3 separate regions of the Homo sapiens genome follow, and all the other regions are linked to region 3. The links are contacts of gene promoters, found by promoter capture Hi-C in blood cells and fetal thymus (Javierre and others, 2016). All regions are on one chromosome and are shown on one strand. Each heading gives the region's core, a stretch centred on a gene start or on the middle of the fragment in contact. The rest is flanking DNA. Distances are from core to core; before and after follow the strand shown.

What was found. Contacts are between HindIII fragments. The CHiCAGO score rates a contact against its expected background, and 5 or more counts as called.
Region 1: a fragment that was not itself captured here is called in contact with the fragment with the promoter of DPY19L4 in region 3 in 1 of 17 cell types (naive CD8 T cells); the score reaches 5.4 in naive CD8 T cells.
Region 2: a fragment that was not itself captured here is called in contact with the fragment with the promoter of DPY19L4 in region 3 in 1 of 17 cell types (neutrophils); the score reaches 5.9 in neutrophils.

The regions. Positions count from the first base shown.
Region 1 is chr8:94,077,059-94,081,129 of GRCh38, forward strand. No RefSeq gene overlaps it. Among named protein-coding and RNA genes, the nearest start is that of CDH17, 130 kb to the right of the region's middle. The HindIII fragment of the contact is 1,215 bases long and covers 1,177-2,391 here.
Region 2 is chr8:95,313,617-95,317,637 of GRCh38, forward strand. The region is part of intron 1 of CFAP418-AS1 (CFAP418 antisense RNA 1); the gene reads left to right. Among named protein-coding and RNA genes, the nearest start is that of TRS-AGA2-5, 46 kb to the left of the region's middle. The HindIII fragment of the contact is 1,567 bases long and covers 868-2,434 here.
Region 3 is chr8:94,717,723-94,721,517 of GRCh38, forward strand. It overlaps DPY19L4 (dpy-19 like 4), which reads left to right and starts at 2,178. Exons shown (of 19, transcript NM_181787.3): 1 at 2,178-2,292. The coding sequence starts at 2,277. RefSeq lists an enhancer at 1,271-2,225 and a silencer at 1,986-2,305. The HindIII fragment of the contact is 11,065 bases long and covers 1,624-3,795 here.

The DNA.
Region 1 (4,071 bases), core at 534-3,033, 640 kb before region 3:
AGTTTTATTATTTCTCAAATATTTATTACTGGTTTAGTGGTTCTTTGAGCTGGGCTGGCTGGCTGGTTTGGAACTGGAAGGTCTAAGATCACTTCCCTTAGGTCTCTGGGCACTCAGCTAGGAATTGATTTCTGGGACAGCTGGGGCCTGCCAAAAACAAACAGAGCTGGACATTAGTTAAAGGCAGTAACAAGATATTTTATTTAAAAACTACTGCAGTGGGGCAAGAGCTGAGCTCCATTCAGATTTGCAAAGGGGTGACTGGGTGTTTTAAAGGGAGAATCAGGGAGTAAGGAGAAGGAGCAAGTGGGGGCTCAGCACAGTGAGGAGGTGAAAAATTTACCAAAAAAAACAAAATCAAAAAAACCAAAAACAGGTAGAGAGTTGGTCAACATAAACGCAATCAGGCCAGCTGTGTCTGCTAATGGGCTTATCAAAGTCAGACTCCTACCCTCCCACCGAGACTGGGAGGCAGGGGCCCTGGACTTTCTGATGATTTCATTTCAAAGGAAGGGCCTGCAAGTCCCTGAGAAAGACACTCTTGGGTTGTAGAGATACATATCCATCTCACAGGGACAGAGGAGGCATTCACAATTGTAAGCTTTTTTTTTTTTTTTTTTTTTTTAAATAAATGCTCTAAGAAGTAAGGTCTAGGGCTTGTCTCCAGGTGTTGGCTGGGACAAACTAAGTTATTTGGCAGCCTTGCCCCTTTTCAGACAGGAACTCAAGAGGGCGGTGGGGGCTACTAAAAGCAATGCTAGAGTTTAGTCGACTCCCTTAGTGCAGGGGTTTGGGCCGAATTGCTTCTGCACTTCTCAGGTGGGCTTCTCTGCACGTGGTCATCATCCCAGATGAGAGAGAAAGCAAGGCCCAGCCACAAGTACATTGTAAGCCTCTGCTTGCTTCATGTTTACTAATATTTCCTGGGCCAGAGAAAGCCAGATGGCCAAGCCCAGATTCAAGGGGTGGAGAAACAGATTCCCTCTCTGGCTGGGAGGAGCAGCATGGCTCTCTTGCAGAGGGGCGTGCAGAGGGGCGGGAGGAATCATTGCAGCCATCTTCACCAACAATCTACCAGAAATTCTAGTCCAGCGCCAACCTGGCCTTTCTCCTGAGCCCCTATTTTCCAAGCAGAAAAAAATACAAAATTTTAGTCATATGTCTATCTCTGCTCAAAGCTTAGTGCATTCTGGTAATTTAAATAGCCTGTTTAGGTAGATGGAATCTCTGGAATAAAAATGCTCTTAGCCTCTGCTCTTCCTAATTTTCTCATGGTGTCTAGGGGGAGGGATGTGGCAGAGAAGCATTTGGTCTAGCTGCTGTTGGTCTGTTTGGGTCTTGAACATGCCACAGTGTGATTGAGATGCCAAGCCATGACCTAGCCAGAGCTGCATCAACCTGGAGAAAGGGGCACCTCTTTCTAATTGGCCACCCCAGGGGGGTGCCTTTTGCCTTCCCTCCGCCCAAAAAAGTACCTTCTTCTAATGTGCACAAAGACATCATCTATGCTAGCAGCAGTGGCCCAGGGCAACATTCTCTACTTCTCTAGTCTTCTGGAGGCTGTTCCTTAGTTGGCTGGGTACATCCTGCCCTCCTGGCCCTTGCAGTAGAAGCCTGTGCCTGGAGAGCTCCCCTAGTCACGATCTGACCTCCCCCAGCTTGCTGGGATCCAGTGGCACTTGCTGGCTGGATTGGCCTCCCCCAGCTCTTTATTTTTTTTATTAATTTTTATGGGTACATAGTAGGTGTATCTATGGGGTACATGGGATATTTTGATATAGGCATGCAATGCATAGTGATCACATCATGGTAAATAAGGTATCCATCACCTCAAGCATTTACCCTTTCTTTGTGTTACAAATATTCCAATTATACTTTTAGCACTCTGCTAAGTGTTTCAAGTCTGATTTTTCTTTTTATGCGCTAAAAGAAGGGGTCGATTTCCAGATATGGAAAATTGTTTCTCAAAAAAAAATCCTGGCTTATAAGACTATCTTATTGCATAATTGTACCTTGTACATCAGAAGCTATTAAGTTCCTGTTTGTGGGTTTTTTTTTTTTTTTTTTTTTTTTTTTTTACATAAATGCTAATCTCCACGACATTTTCCTGGGAGATGCTGGCAGACAGGAGGAGTGCTACTCTGAGTGAGGTCCAGGGACCTCAGCACCAGCACCACACAGGAGCTTGTGAGAAATGCAGATCCTCGGGGACTAGCCCAGACCTGATAAAGCAGAATCTTTAAAAACAGGGCCTAGGAATCTGGATTTAAAAAATTCTTCTGGGAGATGTTGGTGCCCACTAAAGTTTGAAAAGCATTGGACTAGGGTATGGGGTTTGTACTACACTAAAAAATGCAGATGAGGAGTCTTCATTTTTATTTGGCCCTTCAAAGCTTCCCATGCTCTTTTCATGGAAGACTCTGGATCATTTGAGATGAAATCACTACAGTAGTTAGTGAACTGTCCACTCAGTAAATGTGCCATTTCTCAATAATTGGTCCCAAATGGCAAACGCAATAAACAAGGGCTCTTTCTCTCCCTTCTGTGTTATGTATGGTCTCTGTCGGGACCAAAGCCGAGATAGGAAAAGGAGGGTTATTCATTTGCCCTCCAGCTTTTTTATTTCACACACTCAGAAGCAGATACGGAAAAGAGGCAAGCGGTTGTGGAGTGAGCCTTAGGAGCCACCTATGCAGGAAGGCTCCCAAGACCCCACGATGCTGCCGTACCAGGCTGCTGTGGTGATTTTAAACAAGCCTAGTGGGAAGCAGCTGAGCCAGTATAGGAACTGGCTCCTTGTCAGCCTTTAAAAGGCTGTTAACTCTACAGCCAGTTAACTCTGCATCCAGGTGCTGCGGTATGGTTTGTGACACTAGAGGGCAGCAGAGGGTCAGGTGTCTCTGCAGGTGGCTGGGGAGGTGTAGGACACCACCCAGGGAGGGGCTTGCAGCCTAGGGTGGCAGTGACAAAGAAGAGCCAAGGACACAGTCAAAACACAAGCCTCAGGGGCCAGTTGTGGAAATATCACTCCCCTCAAGGGAAATGATAGAATCCGAAACAAGAGCACCTGAGCCCAGAGAAGCCAGAATGGTGTTGGAACGCAGAGAGGATGAGAGCCGGAGTGAGGACCAGGCTGGAGGTACTGGGGTAACTCCCACCCTTGGGGACACACACGGTGACCTGGGGGCTGGTTTCTGCGGGAAACGTGGCTCTAAAGGCGTGCCAGCATGCCCAGCCCCTTGCACCGCAACAGTCTAAATTTACCCATGTCTTGGTTTTCTCTCCGACAGTAGGTGCTGCTCCCACTGCTGACTCATCTATTTCATGACAAGAAGTCTAAGGACTTAGTGACACAGCTCTTTAGCAGATCTGAAGTGGAGAGCAGCCTCAGAATGGCTGTGCTGCCCAAGGCCTCACCTCTGTGACAGACCCTGTGGAGCCCATCAGCCTCGAGTGCAGCAATCCATCAATCCATCAGCACGGGGGAGATGTTGTGTGTACTCCTCCTGCCACTCACCGGCCGGCGGGCCCTCTGGCGCTCATCTCCCTGCTTTCCCAAGGCTGCACATTTCTGAAGAGCACCTTGGAAATGGAGCCGCGGTTTCCCCTAATCTTGACCCCAAAGAAAAGATGATCTTGACCTACATTGGAACCCGCCCCTCTGCCTGCCACTGGCCGGGGGCAGCCCATGCCGGTGCAGCCTCGGAAGGGCAGGGAGATGAGAGCCAGAAGGCCTGCCAGTGAGTGACAGGTGGAGGGCACATGACACCTCTCCGGTGCTGATGTATTGCTGCACTGTAGTGTGATGGGTTCCACAGTTACAGAGATGTGGCCTTGGGCAGCACAGCCATTCTGAGTCTCGTGAAAGGGAAGATGATAATTATTGTGCTGTCCCTAAGGTGCCCAGAGCTCTAGCAAACACTCTTTCCTGTTTTCTCTTCCACTCCCCTCCACAGCTGCATAATACTGTGATAAGCAAAGGGCCATCACCAGCATACTGAAAAATAAGAAAGAAATCCAAGAAAGACACCACCTCTAAACATTACTGCCAGGAAGCCGCCTTACAAATGA
Region 2 (4,021 bases), core at 401-2,900, 600 kb after region 3:
ATTACTTGTCTGAGGTCAAGTGGCAGATTCAAGACCTTAAACCAGGTATTTTCCACTTTTATTGGTACTGGTACAATTAGTTTACACCAATTTCCTACTTCTTCATAGGTCGCTTATTTACCCTCTGGTTATTTTGTGTTTATGTAATTTGTAGTTTTTGTTGTTTTCCAAGGTCATAGAGGATAGGAACTAGACTACTATTTTGTTACCTTCTCTGTTCCTCAGTGTTGACCTTTTTGACTTCATGGGCTATTTTAAAGAATAAATAAGCTGGTGTGGATAAAACTCCTTGCAAAAAGCATGATAGACAACAGCTGTTCAACAAACATAATTGGACAATCAGAAGGTATTTAGAATGTGATGGAACTGATGAATGAATGACAGTATAGAGTAGTCAGTGACATTTCTTTTTATCAATATTTTGATCAAGGACTGCCAAATACTATGTAGATAGTCCTGACATCAGGAAGTTAGCTACATGGACAGATGCTGTGTAGGTCTGGATCTCAGAGGGAAAGTCCAACCCTGTCGTTCTGCCTGTGGGCAGGTGCCCCTCTGGGATTCACTGTTCCTGAATCTATAGCCACAGAAATCTATCCTAGGTACACACAGTATGCATACCAGGAGAATGATGGAATTTGTAATGATCATTAGTGTAATGGACATTTGAAATGTTTATACTACCTAGCATTCATTCGTCCTTCCTAGAAACATCCTGATTTCCTTTTGAGGCAAGGCTTTGCTCACTGTGATGTCTTGGGACAATCCCTATGTCAGTTAGCTGTTATGGAAGTGAAAAGGACAAGATTTTTTCTCTCCCTATCCTGGCATAGCCTGGGGTAGGGTATGGGTGTGGCATATCACCAAAGCTTAGAAATCAGACACATCTTCCTGGGACTTTGAATTTTGAGTGAGTGATGGAAAAATGAGAGAAACAGTTGGAATTTCTGTAGTTCAGTGGTGGTGCCCTGACCAGTGCTTAGTTCTTGATTCCTGGTTCTCTGGAGCTGGCTTGGATTCTGCCTGCTTCCAGGCTGGCTCTGCAGCTTCTGGTCAGTTCCTCAAGCCCCTCATTTCACTTGGCTGGAGTTAGCCATCTGGATTAGTCTGCTCAGGCTGCCACAGACTGCAAGGCTGAAACAACAGAAATTAATTTCCCCACAGTTCTGGAGGCTGAAAGTCCAAGATTGACGTTCCAGCAGGGGCTGTAGACTGTAAGTTTGTGTTATGGTTTCTTGTGAGGGCTCTGTTCCCTGCTTGCAGATGGCCACTTTGGCCTCTCATGGCCAAAAGAAACCTCTGTGCATGTATGTGGGAAGAGAGGAGAAAGGACAGAGCATGCATGAGGGAGCAAGCTCCCCGATGTCTCTTCTTATAAGAACACTAATCCTGTTGGATCAGGGTCCCACTCTTACGAACTCATTTAACCTTAATTACTTCCTTACTCAAAATACAGTCCACACTGTGGGGTTACGGCTTCAACATATGAACTTACTCTGGGGGAGGACACAAACTTACAGTCCATAACACTAGCCAAGGTCAGTTTTCCTTGCTTGCAAATCAGGAAACTAAATCTAAATTTGCTAGTCTTATTTTTTCCTTCTGAACTCCAAAATAAAAATGCTTTGTTCTTTCATCTTGTTCTGCAAAACTAGCTCTACATTGTTGGTCAAAACAGTAGTCTGTTTAACAAAAAGCAAGGGAACTTTGACCGACATCAGTCCTCCTTTCACCTCCTCTCACCTCCTCTCCTCCTTGCATCTTTGCTGGCTCTCATGGCATTTCTTGAGCAAGCCTGTCAGGCAGGCAGGTGACTGGAGACTCTCTGATGTCATTCTCCACACTGATGTCAGATGCCAACCTTGGGGCTGGCTGGGTGGAAAAATGACCAGCTTGGCTCTGAGAGTTCTGGCTCCATGTTGCAAGAAGTTGGCAATTTTCTTCTTCCTTTTTTCTTTTTATTGCTTGTTCCACAGTCTGAGGCACATACACAGCTGGTTGGCAGTTCTGCTTCTAAAGCTGTGGCACTCCCCATCTTAAAGGTTTTGAATCTGCCTGCTGTTCCAGACATGGGGACAATGACAAATTATATTAAGCCAGGCCCTTCTTCCAAGGATCCCCAAGTTAGAAGTCTGTGTGGAGCCTGGCAGAGGGAAATGTACATTAAACTCTCCCAAGGATAAGGCTGTTCTCGAACAATCCACCCCATGCCACATTTATACCTGAAGAGTCACCAACCAGGTTGGAGAAAGGTGCATATGAATGTGGCTCTGAAAAACTTTTGCTTCATGCTCATTTCATTTTTTATTCTGCCCCAGTAGTCCCCTCTGCACCTGGGAATCACTCAGTATGAAGTAAACCATAGCACTTTCCAGAACTGTTTTTGTGTTTTTTCAACTGCAGATGTCCGGGAAACAGTAAACTCTTGTTTTGAAGCTTTTTAAAAATTGAGCTTTTGATTCCAAGCAACTGAAAATGGTTCCTGTTTATGTTTCTTATTGGTGATAGTTTAACTAGCTAGATTTTGTTTTTTCTGGATTATGGTTTTTTTTTTTTTTTTTTTTAATAGTTTTCCTTTAGGAGTTTACCAGTCCCTGGAGCTCATTGGTAGCAGAGGAAAAAAGTGTCCGGAGAAATTGAATTTCTTTTATGTCCACAGAAAAAGTGGCCAGCTGCCATTATAGGATAAACCTAGGGCTTTCTTCCCAGGGGCTCATGGATTAGTAAAATCTGAGCAATGGTACTGCCCTTTTTTTGGTAAGGCTAGAATATATACTTTGGAAAGTGTCTATAAAATTAAGTCAATATAACCACTTATTTCTGGCATTTGTTATGGGATAATTATCCTAATAGTTCTTTAGTCTTGTAATTTAGTAAAATGGATATTTTCCTTACTCTTGAGTTGCTTGGGCAAGCATGACTAATAGTTACCGAAGTGTAGATCGTTTATTAACATGTCTAAATCCTTCTTTTTAAGTCAGCCTAACAGGTAGTTGTTACCATCATGCAGCATTTTCACCAGTTCTTCCCATACCTAACAATTAAAATTGCCCACATGTGATTGAGAATTCATTGTGTGTACATTTCTGGGTTCCAGGATGGGGCCTGAATGAGGGATGTGATAAAGGAAGTATTTACAGATAAAGCATGCATATTTGTAGTTAGTTTAGACTATAGATAATGCAGATTATGTGGAAATCAAAGTGGAGACAGAGTTGGTTTTGTCAGGGCATGTTTCTTAGAGGGGAGTTTATGGAGTTGTTGGTGGGAAGTGCTAATTCCAGGCTGGAAGATGGCTGAGAAGAAATGCGAATGGAAAAGCCAGGTAGGTGAGAAAACTAATTATTGTTGAGCAGTCATACGTGCCTGACACTGTGCTAGTGCTTTACCACTGTCTTCAAAAATTAAATCTCCTTTATTAATTTACAATGTGGTAGGAATTTTTTGCTTTATTTGGGAGGAGGAAACTAAGACTAGGGTTATGCAAAGAATATTAGAGGTGATAGTAGAATTTAGGGTTACTTGACTCCAAATAATGAAAGTGAATAAGACTAACATAGGAGATACTTCCCTGGCTGCAAGGGAGGGGTCTTCATGGGGTGAATCAAGAGAAGAATTTGATTCCTTGGGACTGGGACAGTGAAGGCACATTTATATCTCATAGGAAAGACAACCTGAGGCTCCTGTAGCTCCTTGAGCAGGCTACTGACATGATAGGGAAGCACATTATATCTGTGATATTTATCCATGATGTTGAGAGTATCAGTAGTTTTTTCTTTATTGCCATGTCATAGTCTATGGATGATGAACACTTTGGTTGTGTCCAGTAATGACTTTCTACAATAAAGCTGCTAGTGACAATCTTATACAAGTCTTTTAGTGTTTGAAACCACTGATTTTTGTTTGAGATATTCCCAAGAGAAGAAAGACTATATCACAGGCATACACGTGTTTGGCTTTAGTAGGCACTGCCAGGCAAACATTTTCCCAAGCTGGTTGTACCTATTTACATTCTTATCAG
Region 3 (3,795 bases), core at 928-3,427:
CTTGTTGCCCAGGCTGGAATGCAATGGCATGATCTCGGCTCACCGCAACCTCCACCTCCCAGGTTCAAGCAATTCTCCTGCCTCAGCCTCCCGAGTAGCTGGGATTACAGGCATGCGCCACCACGCCCGGCTAATTTTGTATTTTTAGCAGAGATGGGGTTTCTCCATGTTGGTCAGGCTGGTCTCGAACTCCTGACCTCAGGTGATCCACCTGCCTCAGCCTCCCAAAGTGTTGGGATTACAGGCATGAGCCACCGTGCCCGGCCCTAATGTGGGTTTTTAGGGTTCAAGAGAAGAATGTTTCTACTAGGGCATAATTATCTCTATCTTATCTTATATTTCCATTTGTTATTTTAAGAAGCTATTTTTTTTCTATCATTTTTCTTTCCCCTGTTATTGTAGAGGTCAGGCAAACTTAAAATTTAGTCCATTAGTCAACTTGAGGTGACCGTGAAGAAACTGTAGGATATTAAGACTCTAGACTTAGAAAACAGCAGACCTCAATAGCTACTATATGTTTTCCAAGAGGTGCAGCTCTTTCAGTCAGCTGATCTGATAAGCAGCATACTCAGGTACTGTTGCTCATGTCCAGGGACCCTACCATATCCTGTGGTTTTCAGGGTCCTTATATTCTGTGCTCTCTTGGCTCTGGCACCAGGCCTTTTCTGGTCCACTGTTTCTAACTCCTGGTAAAGTGTTGTTTTAAGGCAAAAAACATCTTTACGGGGAACCAGACATAAAAAGAGTTCCTGGAGGCCCTGCGTGGTAGCTCATGCCTGTAATCCCAGCACTTTGTGGGGCTGAGGCCGGTGGATCACTTGAGGTCAGGATTTCAAGACCAGCCTGGGCAACATGGTGAAACCACACCCCTCCACTTCTCTACTAAAAGTACAAAAAATTATCCGGGCGTGGTGGTGGGCACCTGTAAACCCAGCACTTCGGGGGGCCAAGGTGGGCGGATCACTTGAGGCCAGGAGTTGGAGACTAGCCTGGCCAACCAACATGGTGAAATCCCATCTCTACTAAAAATATGAAAATTAAGTGGTGGCTTGCGCCTGTAGTCCCAGCTACTGGGAAGGCCGAGGCACGAAAATCGCTTTAACCTGGGAGGCGGAGGTTGCAGTGAACCTAGATCGAGTCATTGCATTCCAGCCTGGGCGACAGAGCGAGACTCTGTCTCAAAAAAAAAAAAAAAAAGTTCCTGGAACCGTTTCTGCACATCACTGAAAAATGATAGCCTCTCCCCAAATATCCTAACTTAAAGGTGCTATTAGGAGAATCTTGCTGCCTGCTAATAATGGGGTGTCCATAATTACCCCATGACTTCAGTGAATTCTCGTGCCTGTTTCTCCCGATCTAAAATGGGTATATTTCATTTACTAAATTTACTTCTGAGTACTGTTGGGGAAAAGATCCCGGTGTTTGTTGAAGAATGCTAGATATAATGAAAGTTAAACACAGTTTAACAAATTAAAATTATTCCCTATTGCTCTGTAATATCTAATTGCACACTGCTCTACCCCAGACCATTGTATTATCTCCCCGCCCCCCCCCCCAGAATATCATGAAATGCAACATATTTGCTAAACCAGTTTTGGTGATTTAAAACAAGTTCCAAGCACAAGCTTCTTTCTTGTAATGGTCAAGTGGCCTACGAAACCAAAGCGCCAACTGAGAACGTTTTGCTGCTGCACTCTGAAATCCCAGCGAGAACGCAGGCAGCGATGGCAGTTCTGGAGCACCGGGTTCCACTTCTGCCTCTGACCGGCTTTGTGACTTCCACCACATTAGATCTGAGTTTCCTCCATGTAAAATGGGGCGGGAATGGAGGCTGGACCTGGGAGGTGTCGCTGATGATCGTCTCTGACTCGCTAAGTCGCGGAGTCACAAAAGTGGCGGAAAGCATGCCCTCACTTTTTGGGAAGAGTAGGACGAGGGGCGGGGCTGCAGCGAGACCCACCAGTCTCGCTTTCCAGGGCAGGCGGCGGCCAGGAGCTACAGCTGTGGGCTGCACTCCCGGCGTGGAGTCTCCTTCCTGCCCGCGCAGGCCCCGGCGCCCCAGCGAAACGCTCCGGCCGCTCCCCTCTCCCAACACTCTGGTTCCCGGGCCGCCTGCGGGGACGCGGTTGGCGGCGACACCGGAGGGGGGTGGGTCAGGAAGTGGGGGCGCGGCGGCCAGGAGCGGGCCCCCGGAGGCCGAGGGGTTCGGCGACGCGGAGGGAGGGAGAGTCTGGGCCGCGCGGGAGCCGCAGGGCGCCCTAGCCTTCGCAGAAACGATGGCGGAGGAAGAAGGTGATTGCCGCGGGGTCCAGCGCGCCAACGGCTGCCAGTGGTCTCGGGAAGGAGGGGCGGGGGCGCTGGAGGTCTGGGTTGGAGCTGCTGGTGGCCGCGGTCGCGGTGGCGGCCGCGCGGGCAGGGCGGGAAGGAGCGCGGCGCCCAGGAGAGGACTGCGGAGAAATTCAGGAGAGCGGAGCAAATGGCCCGAAGTTTTGTCGGCCGAATTGGGAAGCAAAGGTGGAGCTGAAAGTTGGGAATCCGTAGCAAGAGAGAAAGCTGTGCCGGGAGTGGTTGGGAAAGAGGGAGGGTCCTGATCAGATTCTTGGTGAAGTGGGAGGCGCAGTTTGGTTTCGAAGATCAGGTTTAGGTACTCAGTGCATATTTGGAATGCGATTTTTAAAGGGCTGTGGATATTGACAAACCCAGAGGCACAGGGGGCGAGGGAACATTCACCACGGGGATAAAGAGGCAGGGATTTGGGATAAACGTGGCAAGATTAATTGGGAATGGGCGAACACGCAGAAACTGAAGAAAGCCAAGTTCACTTAGGTTCAGGGGAAAATGGTAAAGAGCAGAGCCATCTAATTATTATAGTTTTGGGAGATGATGAGGCCAGGAGGCCTTTGAGGGTCAAAGTGGGTGAGCTGGAGAAAGGTTTCCATGCCGCCTTCAGGATCAATGCTAAGATAAGTAATTCATTCAGCAGTATTTTATTTATAGAAAATGATAAGTATGAGACAAAAATGGGAAGTTAGATGAAACTTATCGGTTAGTGATAAACAATACAAGGAATACTCATGGCATAGTAACTTCATGATAACCCCTACTAGTTTCAGGAAGTGAGAAGCAATTAGATTTTTGCATTCTGGTGGAAAACACAACTTTTTACCTTATGAGTGGAGCTGTGGATGTGATAGTAAATCGATCTAATTTAGACTCAAGCCCCCCTGCCTTTTTTTTTTTTGAAACGGAGTTTCGTTCTTGTTGCCCAGTCTAGAGTGCAAAGGCGCGATCTCGGTTCACCGCAACCTCCGCTTCCTGGATTCAAGCGATTCTCCTGCCTCAGCCTCCCTAGTAGCTGGGATTACAGGCATGCGCCATCACGCCCGGTTAATGTTATATTTTGAGTAGAGACGGGGTTTCTCCATGTTGGTCAGGCTGGTCTTGAACTTCTGACCTCAGGTGATCCGCCCACCTCGGCCTCCCAGAGTGCTGGGATTACAGGCGTGAGCCACGGGTCCAGCCGACTCAAGCCTTTCTGAATCAAGAGTGCAAGGAAGGAGTTTAAAGGATTCAGCGGAAAGCAATTTTTAAAAATTAAGCATAAGAAGTGTTTACTGATGTGTGACTTGCTGACCTGTCCCTATGCAGGCTTGGTTCATATTTGTTTCCATTGAGTTTTCAGAGTGTTAAAGCTGGTCTGAATTTAAGACATTCTAACTAAAAACAGCTTCAAAAACAAAGCTATTTGTCGTTGGTGAGAAAGAATGTAATTCCATTTGTTTACTTGGTTCTGTC